Regions from separate parts of the Homo sapiens genome. Here region 1 is linked to region 2. The links are contacts of gene promoters, found by promoter capture Hi-C in human tissues and cell types (Jung and others, 2019). All regions are on one chromosome and are shown on one strand. The core of a region is centred on a gene start or on the middle of the fragment in contact, and the rest is flanking DNA. Distances in the headings are between cores, read along the strand shown. Region 1 holds the start of OR52R1 (olfactory receptor family 52 subfamily R member 1). Region 2 holds the start of OR51D1 (olfactory receptor family 51 subfamily D member 1).

What was found. The method cuts DNA at HindIII sites, captures the fragments that hold promoters and counts their contacts. A contact is called where the count stands out against the background at its distance.
Region 1: the fragment with the promoter of OR52R1 here is called in contact with the fragment with the promoter of OR51D1 in region 2 in 1 of the 25 tissues and cell types used here (ovary).

What each region holds. Positions count from the first base shown.
Region 1 is chr11:4,801,523-4,807,619 of GRCh38, forward strand. It overlaps OR52R1 (olfactory receptor family 52 subfamily R member 1), which reads right to left and starts at 2,858. Exons shown (of 1, transcript NM_001005177.3): 1 at 1,911-2,858. The coding sequence starts at 2,858. The coding sequence ends at 1,911. All of the region lies in intron 2 of MMP26 (matrix metallopeptidase 26), which reads left to right. The HindIII fragment of the contact is 16,304 bases long and covers 1-6,097 here.
Region 2 is chr11:4,635,213-4,640,487 of GRCh38, forward strand. It overlaps OR51D1 (olfactory receptor family 51 subfamily D member 1), which reads left to right and starts at 2,265. Exons shown (of 2, transcript NM_001004751.3): 1 at 2,265-2,541; 2 at 4,565-5,275. The coding sequence starts at 4,579. The HindIII fragment of the contact is 12,772 bases long and covers 604-5,275 here.

The sequences.
Region 1 (6,097 bases), core at 1,608-4,107, 170 kb after region 2:
TATTTATTTATTTATTTATTTATTTATTTATTTATTTGAGATGGAGTTTCACTCTTGTTGCCCATGCTGGAGTCCAATGGCATGATCTCTGCTCACCGCAACCTCCGCTTCCCCAGTTCAAGCGATTCTCCTGCCTCAGCCTCCTAAGTAGCTGGGACTAGAGGCGTGCACCACCATGTCCAGCTAATTTTGTATTTTTAGTTGAGACCGGGTTTCACCATGTTGTCTAGGATGGTCTTGATCTCTTGACCTCGTGATCCGCCTGCCTCGGCTCCCGAAGTGCTGGGATTACAGGTGTGAACCACCGAGCCCAGTTAGGACTCTTTTAAATAACCGGATCTCGCATGATCTAACTGAGAAAGAACTCACTCATCACCAAGGAGATAGTGCTAAGCCATTCATGAAGGATCTGTCCCCATGATCCAATCCCTCCCACTAGGCCCCACCTCCAACACTGGGAATCACATTTCAACAGATTTGGAGGGGAGCCAGGTCCAAATCATATCAACTACAGGCACATTTGAGTTAGTCATATGCTTTATATTTTGGACATAAGGATTCTTCATGTTATAATGAAGTTAGTCATCTATTTTCATTGGTTCAGAATATTTAAGTTTACTTACAATCATGATAGAGTAATACAGCTTAACTAATTAATGTCTATATTTGGGCTGGAATTGCAGGTATTCATTGTTTTGATTTTGGGTGGAAATCATGCAAATTAGATGTTCTGTTTGTCAGTTTCTTTTGTTCCCTATTCTATCCCCACCTTTTGGCAGAATGCTAGGTGAAGAGTAATTGCTCAATATATTACTTGAATAGAAATTTAAAATGTTACAAATATTTTATTTTTCATTAAAAAAGTGACTGGAGGACAATTTGCTATCTGTATAACAAATTTATCTTATCTGACAATATCCTTTACAATTTTAATTATGTAGGGTGATAAAAGAAGTCCTTGGGACTGAGAGGTATGGTATTGTATTCAATTTTGGAGAAATGAGATAAAAATGGACCTGGACCTGCAAAAGCCATCTTGTGATAAGTACTAGGTGAACATCACACTGTATCACATAAATATGTAAAATCATTTTTATCAATAAAAACATAATTAAATTAAATTTAAAAATACACTAAAGTATAAAAATATAATGAAAATGCCATAAGCATCACTACTCCAAGCAGCTATTTTTTATCATTTGGATATATTTCCTGAATTCCTTTCTTTACGTACGTATTCCAGTATAGAATTGGTACCAAGCCTTATGGGCGATAGTTTTTCTTTTCAATTTAAGATTATATCTTGCTTATTTGTCAAATTTTCAGATAGTCCTTTCAAATAAAATAGTTAAATGGCACCTGATATTCAACAGAGTATTGCTTCATCTGTAATCTTATAGGACAATATTTGAATCATTTTATATTTTGTTTTTATAAGGCATGATTTTATGCATGTCTTTGTACATATGCACTTTATTTTTATAAACATATTCTCAGATGAAGAAATATATGTACTTTTAAATTATTTGATGTAAATTTCTAAATTTCTTTTAAGCAAAGTGTACCTACTTCTACTGACAGTGTAAAAACAACTTTTTTACCTTAATCATCTGTGGGAGATGACATTCTTTTAAAATATTCACTGATTTAATAGGTAAAACTACTTTTATTGTTTCCATGTGATGATGAATATGTAGTCAACAAAGTTGTTCTTATCCATCACATCTCTCAGGTATCTCTTTTCTAGGTACCCTGAAAATTGTTTCTCTTGCCTCTAGAGGGTTGCTTACCTCTGAGCCAGTTATTTACAGAGCTGACTTAGTGATAATAAGTAATAGCCTGTCAAATGTTCATTAATGTCCCCACATTAGTGGGGCAATGTAAGTGATGGGGATACACTGACCCTTTGCTCAGGGGATGTTTCCACAACATCCTTGGATAACCCTGTCCCCGATCTGTTTGGTTCTAACTCCATAAATGATGGGGTTGAGCATGGGAGGTATCAGTAGATAGAGATTAGCAAACAGGATGTGTACAACTCGGGGCACATCATGGCCAAAGCGGTAGGTGAGGAAAGAAAAAAGGGCTGGGATATAAAGAGCCAAGATGACACAGATATGGGAGGAACGTGTGCTAAAAGCTTTGAGGCGGGCTTCACCTGAGGGCAACTGAAGCACAGCTCTCAAAATCATCACGTATGACATACCAATGACAATCATATCAAAGCCAGCCACAGAGAAGGCCACAAAGAGCCCATTCCCACGACTTATGCTTGTATCAGCACACACCAACTTCAGCACAGCCATGTGCTCACAGTATGACTGGGGAATGGCTTGGTGTTGGCAGAAGGGCATCCTAGACACCATGAAGCAGAAGGGGCTCACCCACAGCAGCCCTCTCAGCATCACGATGGTCCCCAGTTTGATCACGACCGATGGGGTCAGGATGCTAGAGTGTCGGAGTGGGAAGCAGATAGCCACGTAGCAGTCCAGGGCCATAGCCATGAGCACCCCAGACTCCACAGAAGAAAAGGCATGGATGAAGAACACCTGGATGAGGCAGGCATGGTACTGAATCTCATGAGCATGAAACCAGAATATGGCCAACATCTTAGGTTGAGTGGAGGAGGAGAGGACCAGGTCAGTGATGGCCAGCATGGCCAGAAAGAGGTACATGGGCTCATGCAGGGTGTGGTCAATTCTGATTACATGGAGGAGAGTGATATTTCCAACAACAGCCACAGCATACGTGGCACAGAACGGAAAGGCAATCCACAACTGGAAACTCTCCAGGCCTGGGATTCCAAGCAGGATGAAGGACACAGGATGAGAAGAGCTGTTCCCTGAAGCCAGCACCATGGACTGGTTAATATGGTCTCTGCTGGGAACGCAATCTACTCTCTGCAGATGATAACAATCAAAACAAGTGTTATTATTATATACAAGGCTTTTGGATGGGACTATTGGATACCAGGGTGATTGGGTTTGATTATAAACTAGAATAATTTCAACTGTTTTAATAAATAATATGTTACAACATGACATGATGTTACTGTTGTTTTTCGTACTTATGTCATTCAAAATGGGGTAGAACATACTAGTTGCATGTGTAACTGTTTTTTAAGAATCAATATTTTTCTTGACCAGGTGTGGTGGCTTACACCTATAATCCTAGCACTTTGGGAGGCTGAGGCAGGCAGATTGCTTGAGGTCAGGAGTTCAAGACCAGCCTGGCTGACATAGTGGAACCCCTTTTCTATTAAAAATACAAAAACAAAACAAAACAAAAAAAAACCCCATTAGCCAGGCATGGTAGAGCACGCCTATAGTCCCAGCTACTCAGGAGGCTGAGGAAGGAAAATCACTTGAACCCAGGAGTTGGACGTTGCAGTGAGCTGAGCTCACACCACTGCACTCCAGCCTGGGTGTCAGAGCGAAACCGCCTCAAAAAAAAAAAAAAAAAATGAATCAATATTTTTCTTGAAAGTAGCATCTGCTAAGGGAAAATCATCATGACAAGTAATATTATAGTAATTCTTGCTCTTCAGTTCTATAGAACTAACAGCTGATTAGCTTAAACTTTTCCACAGGTCCTTTTTAAACCTCTGGTTAGCCACTTGGCCAATTTCTCAGAGTAGGAAGTCAGTAGAGTTTGCAAGCCTATAGCAATTTATGTATTGCTTTGAAGTTAGCTTTGAATCTAGGTCAGTTACCACAAGGGCTTGGGTGGGAAGTTAATCTACTGACCAATTGTACATTTATAATTTAATTTATTATCTTTAGTGTAGGTTTCTCCTAGACAAGAAGTTAGCAAACTTTTTTTCTTTAAAAAGTGAGATCACAAAATTTTGAGAAATTGTGGCCTATACTGTCTGTTGCAGCAGATCAATTCAGCCATTGTAGTGTGAAAGTAACCATAGTCAACACATAAATGTGTGAGTGTGGTGTGTTCCAATAAACCTTTGTTTACAAAAATGGGTTGCAAGCAGGTGTTGGTTTCCAGGCTATAGTTTGCCAACCTCTGTCCTAGAAGAGGAATTTTTCATGAAGTCAGCTGTGAACCCCACACTATCTCTAGCATCTCTGTGCTTGGTGCAGAGTAGGAATTTAATAAAATATTCCTGAGGAAAGTAGCAAATAAATGTCATTATTCAAAGGCAGCAGACTCATTAACTGATTAACAATATTCTAAATACCCAGACAGAGCCCTATTGACTACCTTGAGGCCATAGAGGTTGCCCTGCTACAGTAGATACTGTGTGAGCCCCACTGTCTGTCTCTATTCATCTTACCTGAGTTTATTCCACTCTTTGAGTTTTTTGGTGATCACTATCAATCTCAGAATCGATGGCACAAAGCTCATTTTGTTCTTACCCAACACTTTTTCACTAAACTCAGTTGCCTGTGCTTTGTTTGAAAGCCTCAGTTCTTACCACCTTCAAAAGAGAAACACCTGGGCAAGAAAAGTATGCATTTAAATACCCATCACCTCTTGGAACTAATACATGTCTCATTCACTAGAAAAAAAAAAATCCTGAAAAGAATTTCTTCAAGATCCCCCAAAGGCCTTATCTTTTCCTAAATTTCTCTTACATTTGCTGAGGAGTGCTTTAATTCCAACTATGTGGTCGATTTTGGAATAAGTGCGATGTGGTGCTGAGAAGAGTGTATATTCTGTTGATTTGCGGTGGAGAGTTCTGTAGATGTCTGTTAGGTCCGCTTGGTGCAGAGCTGAGTTCAATTCCTGGGTATCCTTGTTAACTTTCTGTCTCGTTGGTCTGTCTAATGTTGACAGTGGGGTGTTAAAGTCTCCCGTTATTATTGTGTGGGAGTCTAAGTCTCTTTGTAGGTCTCTACGGACTTGCTTTATGAATCTGGGTGCTCCTGTATTGGGTGCATATATATTTAGGATAGTTAGCTCTTCTTGTTGAATTGATCCCTTTACCATTATGTAATGGGCTTCTTTGTCTCTTTTGATCTTTGTTGGTTTAAAGTCTGTTTTATCAGAGACTAGGATTGCAATCTCTGCCTTTTTTGGTTTTCCATTTGCTTGGTAAATCTTCCTCCATCCCTTTATTTTGAGCCTATGTGTGTCTCTGCACGTGAGATGGGTCTCCTGAATACAGCACACTGATAAATCTCTCAAGATTTATAACAGACTGGGAGAAATAGGGCTCAGACTTTATAAGTCTAGATTTAAACTGGAATCTTGACCATCCTGCCAGAGAATAAGATATAGGTTTGCTCAAAACAAATACTTGTATGTAGAGTATGGTAAAAATTCAAAACCACCTATATCCGGGGTCCACCTATATCTCTGTCCCCCTTTGCCTGTCCCAGACTTTCCAAGCTGTTTTGTATATTCTGTTTGAGCCGAAGTCTTTCTGTCACTTGCCCCTGTATATCACCCTCAAATTGTCGTGGGGACAGTCCCCCAGCTTCAGGGGTACCTTGAAATGCATACCCAGACCATCCTCATTGCTGTACGAGGCAATATAAGGGGTGCTGGCCAAATCCCGGAACTTAAAGTAAAATTTAAAAAATAAATAAATAAATAATTGTTATTTTTGGAGACTTAGCACTATAGACTTAAACAATTTTTTTTAATAAACTTACGTGTGCATGTGTCTTTAGAGTAGCATGATTTATAAACCTTTGGGTAAATACCCAGTAATGGGATCGCTGGGTCAAATGGTATTTCTAGTTCTAGATCCTTAAGGAATTGTCACACTGCCTTCCATAATGGTTGAACTAATTTACACTCCCACCAACAGTGTAAAAGCATTCCTATTTCTCCACATCCTCTCCAGCATCTATTCATGATAGCAAAGACTTGGAACCAACCCAAATGTCCATTAATGATAGACTGGATTAAGAAAATGTGGCACATATACCCCATGGAATACTATGCAGGCATAAAAAAGGATGAATTCATGTCCTTTGCAGGGACATGGATGAAGCTGGAAACCATCATTCTAAGCAAACTGTCACAAGGACAGAAAACCAAACACCGCATGTTCTTACTCATAGGTGGGAGTTGAACAACGAGAACACATGGATACAGGGTGGGGAACATCACACACTGGGGGCCTGTCTGG
Region 2 (5,275 bases), core at 1,015-3,514:
ACGTTTCCTTTTATACATACACATTAGTGTCCACCCTCCCTACAAAGATACGAAGATATGTTCATAAGTATGAAAAATAATATCACAACGTTAAATGCTATCAGTAAAACAAAGAGAAAAAGGGTAAAGAGGTCCCGCCAAGATTAGGGGTCAAGAAAAGTCTTTCTAAGCAAGGGTGTTTAAACAGAAAAGGCTAAGAATTAAAACTGGGAATAGGATGAGTGTTTTTACCAGGGGAAAAATATATGTGAAGGCTGAAGGGTGAGAGAGAGCATGGCACATTGAAGATGTGGAAATATTTCGGGTCCAATAGGACTTATGTATGCAAAAAGGGAGGTAAAATGGTTGGAGATGGAGATGGAGAGTTGCACTGAGATGGCTTATGGAGTTCCTATGAGTTGGGTTCAGGAGTGTGTTCATTCTACAGGCAATGGGGAATTCAACTGTTCATTCTAAAGGCAATGGAGAATTGCCATGAACTGATATGTGTTTGGAAGATCACACTGGCCACAGCATAGACAACAGATTGGTAGGGAAGTTCTTCTGTGAGTCTGACCAGTGAACAAGTTATTCTGATGATCTAGGCAAAAGACTGTCTTGGCTTGGAATGAAGAAAAGGCAAAAAAGATGGAGAAAGATAATCAGACTCACAAAATAGATATCTAGTAGATAAAATGAACAGAACTTGGTGACTGATTGGATGTGGTTGGAGAGGAAGGTGAGAGAGAGATGGGGAGAAGGCAGGGATGATGATTTCTAAATTTTTGACATGGCCAACAGAGTGATTTATATGACAGGGAACATAAAACAGACAGGGAGCGGGGTCCGGATTGAAGAGCAGAGATGATGAGCTTAGTTGATAATGAAATCAATGAGCTTAGAAATGATGAGTTAGGTGTTGAGTTTGAGGTGCCTGAAGGACACCTATGTCCAATAGACTTTACCATATTTGGAGTTTAGGAGATTGGTCTGGCCTGCTTGGGTGATGAAAGCTACTGGACAAAGTAAGATTACTCATAGTTACTATATAGAGGGGGAAGACAGATTATCTTCCTGGGCCATAGCTACCAGTAATGTGAGGAGTAAAGGACAAGGAGTCTCTCTGCCAACTCCATCCTGTTGACATTTAGTCTCTTCTAGTTCCAAAATACACATTTTAAAATCTCTGTGGAGCTATAAATCCTCCCAATATTGTCCATTTCACTCCTCTGTTCACGTACAAATATCTTAAAAGGGTTGTCTACATCGACTCTCTTCATCTCTTCCTAACACACTCCTCACACTGCTTCACTCAAGATTCCATCCCCCACCCTGTTATCCAGGTAGCCAGTGACCTTTGATTTCAGTCTTTTCACTGCTTGATCTCTCGGCAGCTTTCTGAACTGCTGACCAATCTTCCTTGTCAATATATTTTTTCCTGTCTCTTTTGTGGCACTGTCTACTGGATTTCCTACGTCCTTGGCTCTTCCATTTGTTTTGACTAGTAATAATGAACACAAACATTCACTGGAGACTTGCTAGTATCTCATTTCGTTTTTCACATTAAATGCTTTCACACTAAATGCTTATAGTAGTCATACTATTAATAAATGGGCGGACCCAAGTCTGTTTCCTTCTAGAGCCCCATGTTCAAACAAACATGCCACACGGTCTCATTTCTGGAGGGACAGGACATCTATGATTAGCGACCCAAGGAAGAAAGGGTGGGCTTGAGAGGGTGAGAGGGAGAGCTAAGGGGCAGCGCAGAGTAGTGGAAAGAGCTCAGATGCTAGAGTCAGTTGGGTCCTTGGTTCTTAAAGGCATCATCCTCAGAGCCATTGCTCAGGGACGGCCACGAGGCTGAAGATCCCCTGTGCGACCACAAGGTGGCAGCATGAAGAAGCGAGAGTCCCTGACACAGCTTCGATCCCCTTGGGTAGTTAGTGTGTTCGGAGCGCTGGTATCCCTGCGTGCTTTCTGCTGAGTGCCCACCCCTCCATTCCAGCAGGTCCTCTCTTCCAGCCCCGTTATTCCTCTTCTCCTTTCCACCCCGCGACACAGCCTCCCTCTAGTCTCTTGAGCTGGGCTCAGAGGGATAGTGATAGAGCTCAGTCCCTTTGGGTAGGAGTCAGGGCTCAGCTTTCCTTGGGCGTCTGAGCAGAGCGTCAGTGCCAGGGAGACCCGACTCGTTCACTCTCCATCACTCTACACACTCCTGAGGGGCCCCAGAGAAGCTATAATTGGGCGGCCTCCATGCGCTGGGGAAGCACTGGTGGTGAGTGTAGCAGGCTCAGCCCAGGGAGGTTAGGCAACGGGAGGGTCCGCAGAGACAGGCACAGAAGGCTCATTGCATAAGGAAGCCGGGACTTGATCAGTCAGCTTGGCTGCTTGGAGAGGTCTTCTAGTGTACACCTTTTCCAGATCACAGTAGCCCGGTTCCTGGACCTTGTTCCTACACAGAGGAATTTCTTCAAGCCTGTGAGACCCGTTCCAAGCTTTGCCTATCCTTTGTCCCAGGACAGGACTCCTCAGTTCCTGCCTCCTACTCTTCACTTAAGCAAGGCAAGGGGAATTACTTTACCAGGAAAAAAATGTGTGTGAGTGTGTACGTGTGTGTGTATGTGCACGTGTGTGTTGTGGTGGTGCTGGTGGTGATTGGTGATGAAGAAGGAAACTGAAGCTGGGCTGGAAAGTTGAGTTAGAGGAACACTGTGAAGGGCCTTGTCTGCATACTGTGGAGTTACTAGTTCTCACTTTATCTGGAAAGCTATGGGAATCACTCCTAACTTGCTCAGCAGGAGCCCCAGGTGTCCAGTTTTGCTGTTTAGATGGCAGTGGTGTGGAAGGTGGTTTGGAATAGACTAGGTTTGGAGGCAGGGAGGTAAGTTGGAAGGCTCTTTTTATAATCAGGGCAGAGTGGATAATATAATTAAGTTGGGAGGAGGTGTATTAAGAGGAACGGCCCCAATAATTAATTGGAAAAGTTGAATTGCATGTGGGGGTGAAAGAGGAGACGGGTCAAGATGAGACCAGCTGCCCTGACTTGGGTGATGTGGGTTCTGAGCAGTGGCATTCTCTGAGATCAGGAACAGGTTTGGAAGGGGTCCCTGTTAGAGGCAAGATGAGTGGGAGGCCCATAGGCTATCCAGGTAGAACTATCAAGGAGGCGGTAGGTTATATGGCTGAATCTCAGGACACAGGCTTAGAACAGTGTGGTCTGTAGAGAGAAAGAAGTTGAGCCTGGGACGTTGTGTGATCACCAGGGAGAGTAGGTGGAGGGAGAGGTGTGTGTGCCTGTGAACACTGTGGAGTAACAGCAGCAGCACTGGCTGATTTTCTGTTCATGTCTCAGCTGCATCTGATTTCCATGACATGCTCCTCTTGCTGAGCGCAACCTGGGACTGACTCTCACCTGGGGCTTGAGAGATCTTGATGGCAGATGCTGCTTATTGTTCGTTTGGGAGCTGGAAATGGAAATGATAGTCCCTCTTCATTCACCTCCCTGCCCCCAAGAACACCAGAACAACTTTCCCCAAAGTTCTCTGATTTAAAGCACAAATTTCCTAGGGGAAAGGGGCTTATCGTTTTTTGTTTGTTTATTTGTTTTGTTTTGTTTTTGAGTTGGTGTCTCGCTGTGTCACCCAGGCTGGAATGCAGTGGGGGTGATCTCGTCTCACTGCAGCCTCTGCCGCCCAGGTTCAAATGATTCTCCTGCCTCAGCCTCCTGAGTAGCTGGGATTACAGGTGCGCTCCACCAAGCCTGGCTAACTTTTGCATTTTTAATAGAGGCAGGGTTTCACCATGTTGGCCTGGCTGGTCTCGAACCCCTGACCTTGCGATCTGCCCACCTCGGCCTCCCAAAGTGCTGGGATTACAGGCGTGAGCCACTGTACCTGGCGGGGCTTATTGTTTTTTAAAAAGATTTCCAAAACCTTGCCCTGGCAATTCTGATTTTCTGGGCCTGGAGCAGGACCTGGAGGGATGGTGTTGTCAATTACTTTAGATGTTTCTATCAGGAAAGTTTGAGAAATGGTATTCAGGCCTAAACACAAACCTCTCTTGAAATCTCATCCCAGACTGAGCCCCTGCTCCCTATCTTAAATTAGATTATAGTAGGTCTTAAAGTCAGCTGTAGACTGAGCCTCTAAATCTGAACCCAGACCCACCCTAACCCCAGGATACATCAGAAGAGCTGGTCAATGTGGACCATTCTGAGCAATCCTGCAAGTCTACTCTGATGGGAAAAGGCTAAGAGCAGTGCCCTGGGCAGCAACATCAGCTCTGAAGATGCAGGACTGTGTTACATGTTTTATGAGTGGGTCTTCACACACTGAGATTCATGGGACAGTAATAGAATCTGCTTGTGCAGCACTGGGGCCTTGGAGGGTCAGGGTAAGGCTCAAGATGTCCAGGAAGTTGTATATAAGGAGAATCAGAGCAGAGAGAGACTAGGGTTCAGAATTACCAGGATGACTTAGTCCTGTTTGTTACTGTCACCACTCCAATGCCTTTTCCTCATTAGTCCTTTCTCTCCTCTGAGCCACAACTAAATGATGTTTCTACTTTTCCCTTTCTACTTTCCTAGACCCTGGATTTTGTATGCAGAAGCCCCAGCTCTTGGTCCCTATCATAGCCACTTCAAATGGAAATCTGGTCCACGCAGCATACTTCCTTTTGGTGGGTATCCCTGGCCTGGGGCCTACCATACACTTTTGGCTGGCTTTCCCACTGTGTTTTATGTATGCCTTGGCCACCCTGGGTAACCTGACCATTGTCCTCATCATTCGTGTGGAGAGGCGACTGCATGAGCCCATGTACCTCTTCCTGGCCATGCTTTCCACTATTGACCTAGTCCTCTCCTCTATCACCATGCCCAAGATGGCCAGTCTTTTCCTGATGGGCATCCAGGAGATCGAGTTCAACATTTGCCTGGCCCAGATGTTCCTTATCCATGCTCTGTCAGCCGTGGAGTCAGCTGTCCTGCTGGCCATGGCTTTTGACCGCTTTGTGGCCATTTGCCACCCATTGCGCCATGCTTCTGTGCTGACAGGGTGTACTGTGGCCAAGATTGGACTATCTGCCCTGACCAGGGGGTTTGTATTCTTCTTCCCACTGCCCTTCATCCTCAAGTGGTTGTCCTACTGCCAAACACATACTGTCACACACTCCTTCTGTCTGCACCAAGATATTATGAAGCTGTCCTGTACTGACACCAGGGTCAATGTGGTTTATGGACTCTTCATCATCCTCTCAGTCATGGGTGTGGACTCTCTCTTCATTGGCTTCTCATATATCC